Regions from separate parts of the Homo sapiens genome. Here region 2 is linked to region 1. Evidence: promoter capture Hi-C in human tissues and cell types (Jung and others, 2019). All regions are on one chromosome and are shown on one strand. The core of a region is centred on a gene start or on the middle of the fragment in contact, and the rest is flanking DNA. Distances in the headings are between cores, read along the strand shown. Region 1 holds the start of USP6 (ubiquitin specific peptidase 6). Region 2 has its middle 20 kb from the start of SCIMP.

The links. Contacts are between HindIII fragments. The study calls those that stand out against the background at their distance.
Region 2: a contact is called between a fragment that was not itself captured here and the fragment with the promoter of USP6 in region 1, in 1 of the 25 tissues and cell types used here (pancreas).

Annotation. Positions count from the first base shown.
Region 1 is chr17:5,112,675-5,119,849 of GRCh38, forward strand. USP6 (ubiquitin specific peptidase 6) reads left to right here and starts at 3,358. Exons shown (of 38, transcript NM_001304284.2): 1 at 3,358-4,066; 2 at 5,526-5,616. It overlaps ZNF232-AS1 (ZNF232 antisense RNA 1), which reads left to right. Exons shown (of 3, transcript NR_135658.1): 2 at 712-778; 3 at 1,484-1,708. It also overlaps a transcript of ZNF232 not described here. The HindIII fragment of the contact is 4,107 bases long and covers 1-4,043 here.
Region 2 is chr17:5,251,363-5,258,537 of GRCh38, forward strand. No RefSeq gene overlaps it. Among named protein-coding and RNA genes, the nearest start is that of SCIMP, 20 kb to the left of the region's middle. RefSeq lists an enhancer at 3,156-3,661. The HindIII fragment of the contact is 4,315 bases long and covers 1-3,815 here.

The DNA.
Region 1 (7,175 bases), core at 2,108-4,607:
ATCTCCTGACCTCGTGATCCGCCCGTCTCGGCCTCCCAAAGTGCTGGGTTTACAGGCGCCCGGCCGATTATTTTTTATTTTTTTTTTGAGACATGGTGGCCAACATGGTGAAACCCTGTCTCTATTAAAAATACAAAAAGGTTAGCTGGGCGTGGTGGCGGGCGCCTGTAGTCCCCACTACTCAGGAGGCAGGAGAATCGTTTGAACCCGGGAGGCAGAGGTTGCAATAAGCTGAGATTGTGCCACTGCACTCTAGCCTGGGCGACAGAGTGAGACTCCGTCTCAAAAAAAAAATTAATTAAAAATAAATTTATCTCACTATCAATTTTGCAGGATATTGATTGATCCAGTCTCTCAATACTTTTATAAAATAGCTTAATCCTAGTCTCTCCAAGAAAAATTGTTGTTCAACTGTGTAGTACCATAGTAACAGTTCTCAGATTCTCAGATTATTAAATTTGTTTCTCCAAGATATAGTATCCTTGAAAATGCGCATTGACACCCCCATGGCTGGGGGATATATTATCTTTTTTCCTTCAAAGTGCCATTGATAATTACTGCACGTAGGAGCTATGGATAAAAATAGTTATCATTTGTTGAATGTCTACTACGTGTCTAGAACTATGCCAGGAACTTAATGAAATTGTCTTATTTAGTCTTCACAGTTGCTCCACAAGGGATTGTATTAATGTCATTATCTTGATTTTACAGATGAGAAAACTCAAGACTCAGAAACAATAAAGGTTACAGAGATGAAATTGACAGAGCCTGAATTTCAGTATGTCAAACTTCAATGTGCCATTATACTTTTAAATCCTACAGAACAGATTGAATCACAACTTCTACTTTTACATGAGAGAAGACAATGGGTCCTATGACTTACTGTCAGTTTCCTTTTCCTGATTTAATTAGCTGCTTCTGTATCTAATTTTGCTAGGAATGGAGGAATAAGGCAAATTCCCTAAACTACATATTGACATTTATACTAATGTGAAAACCTCAAGTCCATTTGCAGACTTTTGGATTAGATTCTGTCCCAGAAAGACATCCACCCTAGAGTTCAGGATATCATACCCATTTTACTGTTCCCCTGGCACAATTCATAGTAAGGAAAAACAGACAAGGGGAAAGCTATTAGATTCTCGGTGCTGCTAAACAGGACACACAAGGACACCATTTTGTGATGATGATGGTGCTTTATGCAGCTTCCACCATTTACAAGATTTTCCTGTGGTGTGGAACCTCTCATGATAAAGCAAAGGAACTAGAAGCTTATTCCAGTCAAGATTTCTGATTTATCTTGTGGTAAGCATTTGGGAAGGACATATCTGCACATGACCTGAGACTAAGTACTATACACTGAATCAGATGAAAATTGCTCTTAGGAAGCTTACAATTTTCCAAATAGTTAGGACAAAAACAAACTCTCCTTCTCTCTTCCTATATGTACATACTGACATCTTTATCATTACTGTCTTCCTAGGGTTATGATTCTGTATGGTTTCTTTGGTGCTGCATTAGACCTGAGCTCTGATTGAAAATTCTTCCACGCTCGCTACATTCCAAAACTTTATCTCCAATATGAATTTCCAGATGCCTCACAAGGTCTGAGCTCCATCTGAAGGCTTTCCCATGCTTGTCACATTCATAGGGCTTTTCTCCACTATGAATTCTATGATGTCGAATAAAGTGTGAGCTCTGATTACAAGTCTTTGAACATTCATTGCATTCACAAAGTTTCTTTCCACTGTGAATTCTTTGATGCTGAATAAGTTGTGAGCTCCCCTTCAAATCTTTCCCACACCCAATGCATTTATAAGGCCTCTCTCTCACCTTGTATGGATTCTCTGATGTTCTGTAAGGACTGAGTTCTGGCCAGGCGCAGTGGCTCACGCCTGTAATCCCAGCACTTTGGGAAACCGAGGCGGGTGGATCAGCTGGGCTCAGGAGTTCGAGACCAGCCTGGCCAGCATGGTGAAAGCCCCTCTCTACTAAAAATACAAAAATTAGCCGGGTGTGGTGGTGGGTGCCTGTAATCCCAGCTAATTGGGAGGCTGGGGCTGGAGAATTACTTGAACCTGGGAGGTGGAGGTTGCAGTGAGCCGAGATCGGGCCACTGCACTCCAGCCTGGCAGCAGTGTGAGACTCCGTCCCAAAAAATAACAAACAAACAAAAAAGACACCAGAGGGCTTTGGGTCCCTCTCTCTCTGCCATGTGAGGACCCTGTGAGAAGGCAGCCAGGGAGCTCTCACCAGAACCTGACCATGTTGGGCCCTGGTCACAGCCTTGCAGCCTCCAAAACTGAGAAAATAAATTTCTGTTGTCTGGCATCCAGTCTATGGTATTTTGTTACGGCAGCCCGAGCTAAGACAGAGGAAAACTGGGGGCTGATGTGACGGCGGGGACTTTAGGTAGAAGGACCCCACGTCAAAAGTCAAAGCTAAAAATTCTGGAACGAGCCAGGAAGGCATCAGGACGTCTCATTTTATTTGCTAGAGGCATCTTTTGGGGGGTGGGGCGGTGGGTGGGTGGAAGGAGATGTGGCCAGTGAGCCTCTGACTTTTAATTGAGTTATTTCGAAACAAGGAACAGAGGGCCGGATGTGGTGGGTCGTGCCTGTAATTCCAGCACTTTGCGAGGCCGAGGCCAGTGGATCACCTGAGGTCAGGAGTTCAAGACCAGCCTGGCCAACATGGTGAAACCCTCTCTCTACTAAAAATACAAAATTAGCCTGGCGTGGTGGGGGGCGCCTGTAATCCCAGCTACTCGGGAGGCTGAGGCGGGACAACAGCTTTAACCCGGGAGGCGGAGGTTACAGTGAGCCGAGATGGCGCCACTGCACTCCGGCTTGGGCAACAGAGCAAGACTCCGTCTCCAAAAACACACACACACACACACACAAAACCCAAAACGGAACAGAGGCAGTTCTGTATTCCAGAGGGATTGATTTGTGATGCCTGCTCAAAACTCAAGAAGCCACCACCCTGATACTCATCAAACCCCGGAGAAATTTCGTTTTTAGAGTGTCAGAAGGCCCCATGAATAACCTTCCAGTCACTGAGGGAGGTCCCTACTCAGCACGCCCCGGTCTCCTTCACTCTCCTGCACTCGTGCCTCACAGATGGCCTCATGCGCGGACTGGCGGTCCAGCCTCCCGGGGACACAGCCCGGGCGCACCCCGCGCCGCCTTTGGCCACTGAGGCGGTCCTCGAGGCGCCGGGCTAGGGAAAGCCTCCCCGGCCGTCAAGGCTGGGATAGCGCCGGGGGATCGGGGCGGGGTGCGTGCGCCGAAAGGGCCTCAAAGCTGTAGGGCTGGACGGCACAAAGGGGCGCAAGGCACGGAGGCCAGGCAGAGGGGACAGCTAGCGGCGCGGCGGGACGGGCGGGCCCCGACGCCCAGCTCCAAATGCGTGGCCGCTGTGGGAGCTCGTCTCCAGGCGCCCATCAGTCTTCCCCTCACTCGACGCTACCTTGGCGGCCGCGCCCATGCTGTCCCCGCTCCAACTAGCAGTCAGGAGGGGCCGCGGGCAGCGCTCGAGACGCTCATTGAGAGGACTTCCCGCCTGCGGGCTCTCTGCTCGACGCCACTCCCGGCCCCGCTCCGGGCGGCCCCCCTCACCACTCCCGGCCCCGCTCCCGGCGGCCCGCCTCACCACTCCCGGCTTCCCGGGGCTTAGGCCCGCACCATCGAGTCGAACCGAGTCCTCATGTTTTCCTAGACAAGCCGCTGGGGGAGAGGGGAAACACTTCTGGCCCATGTGAGCCGCCGTCTCGTGTGGTGTCTGAGGGGCGTCTACCTGGAGTCACTGAGCCGACGAAAGGGAAAAGGCCAGTGCCTGTCCGGGAAGAGCTCAGCCTAGTGGGGCGGGCGACAAGTTACAGTTGCTGCCTTACGATGGCCGTGGCCCGTGGAGGCACTAGACCCTCACCAGGGGTCTGTCAGGAAAGGCGGGCAGATACGTGAGGCCTGAACAGGAAGGAACTGGGAGACCCAAGACTGTACCGCCAAGACCGCTTTCGAGTCGGGCCGACCGGAATTTGAATTCGTTTCTTCACTTACTAGTTGTGAGTCTTTGGGCAAATTTGCCTTTCTAGAGCGTAGTTTCTTATGTATAAAACAGGGTTAACAGTTGCACTCACTGAGGTAAATACAAGAGAAAATTGATGGTAAGTGCTTATCACGGTACCCAACACATAGCAAGTACTGAAAAGTGATGGAGCTAGGTACGGAGGGAGCAATCTTCACAGAGGGAACAGCTCGTGGAAAGGCCACAGGGCAAGAGGGCGGTGCCTACATTCTTGGGGAACTGCAGAGAGTTCATGGGTAAATAATAGGAAGGAAAGGTAAGTACTTTGCAGAAAGCCTTCCCCAGCTAGGTGAGACTCCCCACTGTAGTATCATATGCCTCTCCTTTTTGGCACTTATGGTTGCAACTTTATTAATGATTCTAATTAGTTTCTCTTCTACAATTATAAGTTCCATCAGGCCAGAGACTTGTCCATTTATGCTCACCCTGCTTTGTAGCACCCGCTGCTTAACACATATTAAAAGCTCGATAAGCCTGGGCGAGGGGGCTCAAGCCTCTAATCCCAGCACTTTGGGAGGCCGAGGCGGGTGGATCATGAGGTCAGGAGTTTGAGACCAGCCTGACCAACATGGTGAAACCCCCTCTCTACAAAAAATACAAAAATTAGCCGGGTGTGGAGGCACACACCTGTAATCCCAGCTACTCAGGAGGCTGAGGCAGGAGAATCACTTGAACCCGGGAGGCAAAGGTTGCAGTGAGCTGAGATTGCACCACTGCACTCCAGCCTGGGCGACAGAGCGAGACTCCGTCTCAAAAAAAAAAAAAAAAAGCTCAATAAATATTTACAGCACAAGTGAATAAATGGGGTCGCATCAGAATATATATGTCACAATAAGGACTTTGGACTTCAGGCTGAAGTTAGTGGGAAATCACTGTGGAAATTTAGAGAGGGGGATGGCACTATCAGATTTGTTCTGAAGGAAGAACATTCCAGCTGCCCTGTAGAGAAGCGTTGGAATCAGGGAGGCATGTTAGGAGGCTGCGATAATAGTACAAGCAAGAGATGATGGTGGCCTCACTCTAAGGGCATTAAAAATCAAGACAAGTGAGGCCGGGTGGGGTGGCTCACACCTGTAATCCCAGGACTTTGGGAGGCCAAGGCAGGCAGATCACCAGGAGTTTAAGACCAGGCTGGCTAACATGGTGTTAGCTGGGTGTACTGGCATGCACCTGTAATCCCAGCTCCTCCCAGCTCCTCAGGAGGCTGAGGCAGGAGAATCACTTGAACCTGGGAGGCGGAGATTGAAGTGGGCCGAGATCATGCCACTGCACTCTAGCCTGGGCAACAGAGTGGGACTCCGTCTCAAAAAAAAAAAAAAAATCAAGACAAGTGGACTATATTGGCAGATTACTGGCTAGCATTCACTTATTCTACCATAGTCATGTGCTCTCTCCCTCAGGGATGGTAGTGACAGTCTTATTTCCTATTGATACAGGATTTTTTTCCTTGATTCCTTCGTGGGACTCAAGACAGGGGTGCCCTGTTTACTCAGCCCACTGTGCTCAACCTCTTGCAGGAGTGTGCAGGTGAGTGAGCAAGTGCAGGATCTGGCTGGCCACTACAGGCACCAGCATGAGCAAGCTCTTTGCGGAGCCTGTGACCAGACCAGGCATGAGCAAACGACTGCAGGATCTAGCTGGCTGCTCTGGGCAGCTGCAGGAGCAAGCTCCATTTGGGGTCTGCGGTGCTGCCCAAGTGGGGGTGCCTGTGATCCCAAATCCCCAGAGGGAGTGTTACAGTGCTCTCTTAGCGCCACTGTTTGAGGATGGGTATGTGTTAACAGCTCAGCTGGCCCCTAGCCCCATTGCGTGGGGTGGCTACCTGCCACTGGTGAGGGCAAAGGGTGAGTGTGACAGCCTTTTGGGTAGCCAAACTTGGTGGGTCCCAAGCTCTTGTCTGGCATCCAAAAAGAATGAGGTTGTGTGGAGCACTTGAAGGATGGTGAAGGTGGAGAATTTTACAGAGTGATCACAGTGGCTCTCAGCGGAGAGGGGAGCTAGAGAGGGGGTAGAAAGGGCAGGTCATCTTCTCCCCAAAGTCTGGCCATTTCTTCCCGAAAGTCTGGCCATCTCTCTCATCTACTGACTGAGTCTGGGGTCTTTATAGGCACAGGATGAGGGTGGGGCAGCCATAGGTATTTTTGGAAAAGGCAACATTTGATTGGTAAGAAGACATTATTCAGAAAGAACCAATCGGGAGGGAGTAAGCAAACAGGAATAGAAGTTCTCACTTTGGGCTGTGGGTTTCAGGCTTTTCGGCTCAAAGATGGGGTTTCACTGGGGGCCTGCCACATCTGCTTAGAATTTCTCAACTTCATGTCCTGCCTCTATCACTATCAAGTATTTATATGAAGAAACCTCTCCTAAGCCACACTCCAATCACCCCTCTTCCTCAAAGAGATTATCAGACTCTGACTTTTTCTCAGTTTTGGTCCTCTTGGAGTTTGGTTCTTTAGCTGTTTAAAATCTTATGAAGGCAAACTTTGATCATTTAGGCTCTTTTCTCAAAGTTCCAAAGTAGACTGCTCCCTAACAGGTAGGTTTTATTTTGTGGAATTCAGGTTTACAAATTGGACATTACTACATTAGCTTCTGCTACCTATAAAAGCTTTGAATAGGTGGGCTTTTATTTCATGAATTACCTGATTATCTGAAAATTAACTCTTTTGTCCTTCTTCAGCCCCCACTAAAGTGAGGTCAGCTCAGGGAATGCAGCAGAAATTCACCTGGAAGCAAGCGAGGCTGGGGCCCAGAAACCCCCTGGGCTGGGCCATGCTTCCAGTCCAGTTCCCATCTTTTATGGATGCCTAGCCCTGACCCTCAGAGGACCCTGGGTGAGGCCTGGAGGAGCCCCTCTTCCCAAATAGACTTCATTTGTCCCTTGAGGCTCAGCTCACTGCAGTTAACTAACTAATGAGTAACTCAGTGTAAGAACACACAATGCTAATTATTATAATTAATTATAATAGTGATAGTCATTAAAACAAGGAACTTCTGCCCAGCACTACAAGTGACTCACAGCCATCATCTCAGCTGATAAACAGCTGGGAGAAAGATACTCTTTCTTCCTTTTGACCCGTGAAGAA
Region 2 (7,175 bases), core at 408-2,907, 140 kb after region 1:
CCATGTTGGTCAGGCTGGTCTCGAACTCCCGACCTCAGGTGATCCACCCACATCGGCCTCCTAAAGTGCTAAGTGCTAGGATTACAGGTATGATGAGCCATTGCACCTGGCCTTTTTTTTTTTTTTTTTTTTGAGACGGAATCTTGCTGTGTCGCTCAGGCTGGAGTACAGTGGTGCAATCTCTGCCCACTGCAACCTCTGCCTCCCAGGTTCAAGCAATTCTCCTGCCTCTGCCTCCCAAATAGCTTGGATTACAGGAGCCCACCACCATGTCCGACTAATTTTTGTATTTTTGGTAGAGATGGAGTTTTGCCATGTTGGTCAGGTGGTCTCGAATTCCTGGCCTCAAGTAATCTGCCTGCCTCAGCCTCCCAAAGTGCTGGGATTAGAGGTGTGAGCCACTGCACCTGGCCTATGATTTTCTTAATAACATTTTCTTTTCTCTATCTTACTTTACTGTAAGAATACAGTATATAATACATATAACATACAAAATGTGTTAATCGATTGTTAATGTTATTGGTAAGGCTTCTGGTCAACAGCAGGCTATTAGCAGTTAAGCCTACTATTGACCAGAAGCCTTACCAATAACATGTGGGATGTCAACTGCACCAGGGGTTGGCACCCCTAACCCCTGTGTTGTTAAAGGGTCAACTATTCTTATTTTCCAACCTAATGTTGCCCTCCTCAGAGAGGCTTTGATTTTATCTAAAATAACATCCCTCAGTGAAAAATTACCAAGTATTCAATAAATCTGAAAAATACTTTCATGATGAAGAGAAAAATCAATTGCAACAGACCCAGGAATAACAGAGATGATGAGATTAGTGGACAAGAGCATGTTATGTAGAGACATAGAAGATATATAGATACTGATAGACTATGTATGTATATATGAGTGTATCTATCATCTATCTCTTCTAGAGATGAAAAGTACACTGAATGGAATTTGCAGCAGATTACACACTGCAGACCACAGATTAATGAATTTGACACAGTAATAGAAATTATCCGGGCGGGCCGTGGTGGCTCACACCTGTAATCCCAGCACTTTGGGAGGCCGAGGAAGGCGGATCACCTGAGGTCAGGAGTTCGAGACCAGCCTGGCCAACATAGAGAAACCCAGTCTTTACTAAAAATACAAAATTAGCCGGGCGTGGTGGTGCATGCCTGTAATCCCAGTTACTCAGGAGGCTGAGGCAGGAGAATCACTTGAACCTGGGAGGTGGAGGTTGCGGTGAGCCGAGATCACGCCACTGCACTCCAGCCTGGGCAACAAGAGTGAAATTCCTTCTCAAAAAAAAAAAAAGAGAGAAAGAAAAAAGAAAAAGGAAAAGAAAGTAATCTGAAGTGAAATACAGAGAAAGACAACGGCTGAGAATAAATGACAGTGAGTTGGGGGATAACTTCCAGAAGCCTAATGTACGTGTAACTGGAGTTTCCAATAACCGAGACTCCATTTCCAAAAGGAGGAGGTACAGAAAAATATATTCAAAGAAATAAGGGAAAAATTTTTCCTAACTTGATGAGAATGATACACCCGTAGATAATACACCCACCCAGCAAGCTCAATGAACCCAAAGCACAAGAATCATGAAGAACACTAATCAAAGTGCATCTTTTTTTTTTTTTTTTTTTTTGAGACGGAGCCTCGCTCTGTCACCCAAGCTGGAGTGCGGTGGCGCGATCTCGGCTCACTGCAAGCTCCGCCTCCTGGGTTCACGCCATTCTCCTGCCTCAGCCTCCCGAGTAGCTGGGACTACATGTGCCCACCACAATGCCCGGCTAATTTTTTTGTATTTTTTTAGTAGAGACGGGGTTTCACCGTGTTAACCAGGATGGTCTCGATCTCCTGACCTCATGATCCGCCCGCCTCGGCCTCCCAAAGTGCTGGGATTACAGGCGTGAGCCACCACGCCCAGCCCAAGGTGCATCTTAATCGGGCTACTTACAAACAGCAATGAAGAGAAGATATAAAAGCAGCCAGAGAAAAAAACAAATATAAAAATGACAGCAATCTTCTTTTTGGGAGTTAATGTGATGCAGAAGATGCTAAAGCAACATTTAAAAAGTACTAAAAGGGCCGGATGCTGTGGTTCACACCTGTAATTCCAGCACTTTGGGAGGCCAAGTCCGGTGGACCATTTGAGGTCAGAGTTCGAGACCAGCCTGACCAACATGGTGAAATCCGTCTCTACTAAAAATACAAAAATTAGCTAGGTATGGTGGCACGTGCCTGAAATCCCAGCTACTGGGGAGGCTGAGGCAGGAGAATTGCTTGAACCTGGGAGGCGGAGGTTGCAGTGAGCTGAGATCATGCCACTGCACTCCAGCCTGGGTGACAGAGCAAGACTCTGTCAAAAAAAAATTAAGAAAGAAATAAAGAAAATCGAAATAAAGAAAATCAAAATAAATGAAAGTTCTATCATATTCATGGATCGTAAGACTCAATATTGGTAAGATTTCAATTCTCCACAAATTGATCTACAAAATCAACACAGTTCCAATCAAAACCTTGGTGGGCTTTATTTGGTAGAATGAGCTGATTCTAAAATTTATTTAGAAATGCAAAGTACCTAGAATAGCCAAAATAACTTTGAAGCAGAATAAGTTGGAGGACTTACTACTTGATTCAAGAATTCTCATAAAGCTACAGTAAAAAAAACAATGTGTTATTGTTGCAGGTAATACATAAATAGATCAGTGAAACAGAAAAGAAAGTCAAGCAATAGACCTGCACATATATAGTCAGTTGATTTTTTTTTTTTTTTGAGATGGAGTCTCGCTCTGTCACCCAGGCTGGAGTGCAATGGTGCGATCTCAGCTCACTGCAACCTCTGCCCCCTGGGTTCAAGCAATTCTCCTGCCTCAGCCTCCTGAGTAGCTAGGTTTACAGACGCATGCCACCACGCCCGGCTAATTTTTTGCATTTTCAGTAGAGACGGGGTTTCACCATGTTAGCCAGGATGGCCTCGATCTCCTGACCTTGTGATCCACTCGCCTCAGCCTCCCAAAGTGCTGGGATTACAGGCACGAGCCACCTCGCCTGGCCATGGGTGCGGTTTATTTCATGTCAATCATAACTCAATAAAGCTGTCAAAAAAAAAAAAAAGAAAGAAAGGTGAGCCTGGGGTTGGGAAGGGTGAGTGTCAGTCAGAACATGGAGAACTCAGAAGCCAGACGGAGGGGTGTAGACGATCCCCCGGTGATGGGCCAGCACCCGAGCATTTCAGAAAGGAGTGGGTTGTGGGAAGCCAACACTGTCAGCAGGATCTGGAATGGATTGGATGCCAAAGAAAGGAGTGTGGGCAGGAGCTCCTTGCAAGGTACCTACTATAGTGGTGGGGGTGGATTCTAGAAATAAAAGGGGGTCATTTGGAAATGAAGGCGAGGTTAGAAAAAGAAAAGGAGGGAGAAGCAACTGGATCCATGACAATTTAGGGCCCGTCCCCCAGCTCCCAAAGCAGTCATTTGATAAACCAAATCGAGGGCAGAGAAGGCTCTTGGAAGCTTGAAAAAAAATTCCTGCTATGTCTGCTTCTTTCTGGTTTCTACCCTGTGTACAGGGTCCTGTGACCACAGCTCTTTCTGCTGACCGCAGCTGGGTATTCCTGCCTATGGAAAAAAACCACTCACTCGGCCCCGCTCACTCAGCAAAGGGGCCCGTGCTCCTGCTCCTGCACCCAACTGGCCTTCAGGACTGCAAGAGGCCCCAAGGGGCCAGCTCTTCCTGCTGCTCTCAGGGGCACCACCGTTACCCTGCCCAAGCCAAGAACTGTTTTCTCTCTCAAGTCAAGTTCCTCCTTTGGTCTGCCTTCTATCTCTCTAGGTGTAATGTAAGCCATGAATATTCATCCTGCCAAAGAGCCTGGAGTCAGTACCTGACTTTTCTGCTCACTTCCTCTCTACCTTGGTCCTACCTCAGTTTACTCCCAAAATGCTGCACCTACCACTATGCCCTGATTAACAGATGACCCCATCAGGTGACAGGAATCTAAATATAACTGTGGCTGGGTGGCTGACTTCCTGTGTGTGCTCAAGGCAAGAGACTAGGAATTGTGCCTTCACCAAGCCTGTAGATCCAGATCCTTGCTGCCTGAGACAGCCCTCAGGGTACAAGCTTGCAATCTGATGACAGAGAGAAGGGGAAGGGAGAAGAGGGGTGTGTGGTAGGAGACAGCTTGGTCCAGAGAAAGATGGGTGCCAAAACCAAGGCCAGAGGCAAAGTTTAGAGCCTTGAAAAATGACTAACATCAGTAAGGGATGGGTTCCTGTAAACTTTATTCTACCTAATGAGGAATCTGCGAGCCTTTGATTGACATCATAATAGTAAACTTGTGCCTGAATACCATGCCCAAGCCAACTGTTTCATTCTTTCTTCCATTTATTTATTCATCCAGCAAATATTCATTGAAACCCTGGTGGCTCCAGACTGACCAACATGGTGAAACCCCGTCTCTACTGAAAATACAAAAATTAGCTGGGTGTGGTGGCGCATGCCTGTAATCCCAGCTACTCAGGAGGCTGAGGCAGGGGAATCGCTTGAACCGGGGAGGTGGAGGTTGCAGTGAGCTGAGATTGTGCCACTGCACCCCAGCCTGGGGGACAGAGCCAGACTCTGTCTCAAAAAAAAAAAAAAAGAAACTCTGGTGGCAGACCTACATCCTGCCTTCAAGGAGTGGGCCCCAAAAAATAAAACTAAAAATTACGAACAATATGAAAAGGGCTCCAAAGGGGTCTTCAGCCCAGATCTGGCAGAGGTTGGGTCAGGGAAGGTTTGTTAGAAAAGATTCCATTCACACTCAAGTCCCAAAGGGTTTGTAGGAATAAGCTGAGAGAGGTGTGCCAGGGTCGGACAGATGGGCTGGGAAGACTCTGAGGGAGCAGTAAGCAGTCTGGATATTGGGCACTTAGGGTGAAATGGCATTGGGGGCCGGGATGAGGTGAGGCAAGGCTGGGCATACTGGCAAGTTCCTAATCTTGAATGCCTTCATTCACTCACTAACTCACCGAACAAATATTGATTGATTGATTGATTGATTGAGACAAAGTCTCACCCTGTTACCCAGGCTGGAGTGCAATGGCGTGATCTCAGCTCACTGCAGCCCCCGCCTCCTGGGATCAAATGATTCTCCTGCCTCAGCCTTCTGAGTAGCTGGGATTACAGGTGCCTGCCACCACGCCTAGCTAATTTTTGCATTTTTAGTAGAGATGGGGTTTCACCATGTTGACCAGGTTGGTCTCGAACTCTTGACCTCACGTGATCTGCCCACCTCGGCCTCCCAAAGTGCTGGGATTACAGGTGTGAGCCACCGCTCCCGGCCTGAACAAATATTTATTAAGGACCTACTCTGGGTCACACATTGTGCTGGGATCAAGAATAGTTTTGGCACTTTGGGAGGCCAAGGCAGGAGGATTGCTTGAGCCTAGGATTTTGAGACCTTGTCTCTATTTTTTTTTTAATTAGCTGAGTGTGGTGGCATGCACCTGTAGTCCCAGCTGCTCAGGAGGCTAAGGTGGGAGGATCACTTGAGCCCAGGAGTTGGAGGCTGCAGTGAACTATGATCAAGTTGCTGCACTCCAGCCTGGGCAACAGAGTGAGACCCTATCTCAAAAAATAAAAAATGTTTTAAAAAATAGTCCTGGATTCATTAAGAAATTTGCAGGCATTGGAATGATCTCCTGAGTTAGGTGATTTTACCACTAACAACAAAACATTTTTGAGCACACGCTGCCAACTATTCCAATTATTTGTTTATAATTACTCATACGACTATTATTATTTTTCTCAGGACAGACTATATACTGAAGGTGAAAGGCATTGTTAGTGATAAGGGATGTACAAATGTATTGCAAACACTCTTTTTGATAATTTCTCTCACTCCCTCTTGCTCATTTGCCAGATTTTTGGCAGATCTGATGAGATCATGTTTTTACCTATAATGTGGCTAACGAAGGACTTCTATTATGAAGAGAAGAAGCATCAGGTCTGCTATTTCCTTTTTTGTGGCTTGTGCTGGCTTTATTAGTTTATATTCAATCTGTCTATCTTTGCAAGCCCCATGTCCAGTTTTTGAGGGTTGGGTTAGTGGTAACGATAATATAATCAGAAAAGCTCAGCCGGGCGCAGTGGCTCACACCTGTAATCCCAGCACTTTGGGAGGCTGAGGCAGGCAGATCACGAGGTCAGGAGATCAAGAGCAGCCTGGCTAACATGGTGAAATCCCATCTCTACTAAAAATACAAAAAAATTAGCCGGGCATGGTGGCATGAGCCTGTAGTCCCAGCTACTCGGGAGGCTGAGGCAGGAGAATCGCTTGAACCCAGGAGGCAGAGGTTGCAGTGAGCCAAGATCGTGCCACTGCACTCCAGCCTGGGTGACAAAGCGAGATTCTGTCTCAAAACAAAACAAAACAAAACGAAAAAAAAAAAAAAAAGGCCAGGTGCAGTGGCTCATGCCTGTAATCCCAGCACTTTGGGAGGCCGAGGCAGGCGGATCACAACGTCGGGAGATCAAGACCATCCTGGCTAACACAGTGAAACCCCGTCTCCACTAAAAATACAGAAATTTAGCCGGGCGTGGTAGCGGGCGCCTGTAGTCCCAGCTACTTGGGAGGCTGAGGCAGGAGAATGGCGTGAACCTGGGAGGCGGAGCTTGCGGTGAGCCGAGATCGCACCACTGCACTCCAGCCTGGGCAACAGAGCAAGACTCTGTCTCAAAGAAGAAAAAAAGCTGTTTAGCTGCATCCATTTAAGCTGCAATGCAACACAGTATGGTAAAGGCAATGACCCCACTTGCTGTTGTGTCCCCTACCTGCAGGCAGGCTTCCCCTCTTCCATCAGACACTGTGCACCTGGCCCTACCCGAGGTGATCTGAGCTACACACCAGGATGTCAGTGCCAAACTGCAAAATATATATCAGCCCGATTTGATGTATGTCAGTCTTGCTACATTTAATACAAAATCACACGCTAGTGGGTCATTTCGTGGATTTCTGGAAATAGAACCCAGGCCCTTGGCAGCTGCTATCTCTTATGTCAGAGGTGGAAAAAGCTCTGATGTAGCCTATAGCAGGTATTGAACATGAGATCCTTGATTTTCCTGCCTAATGGCCTCCAATGGCCTCTCATTGCATCAGAAAAAAATCCACATCCAGGCCAGGCGCGGTGGCTCA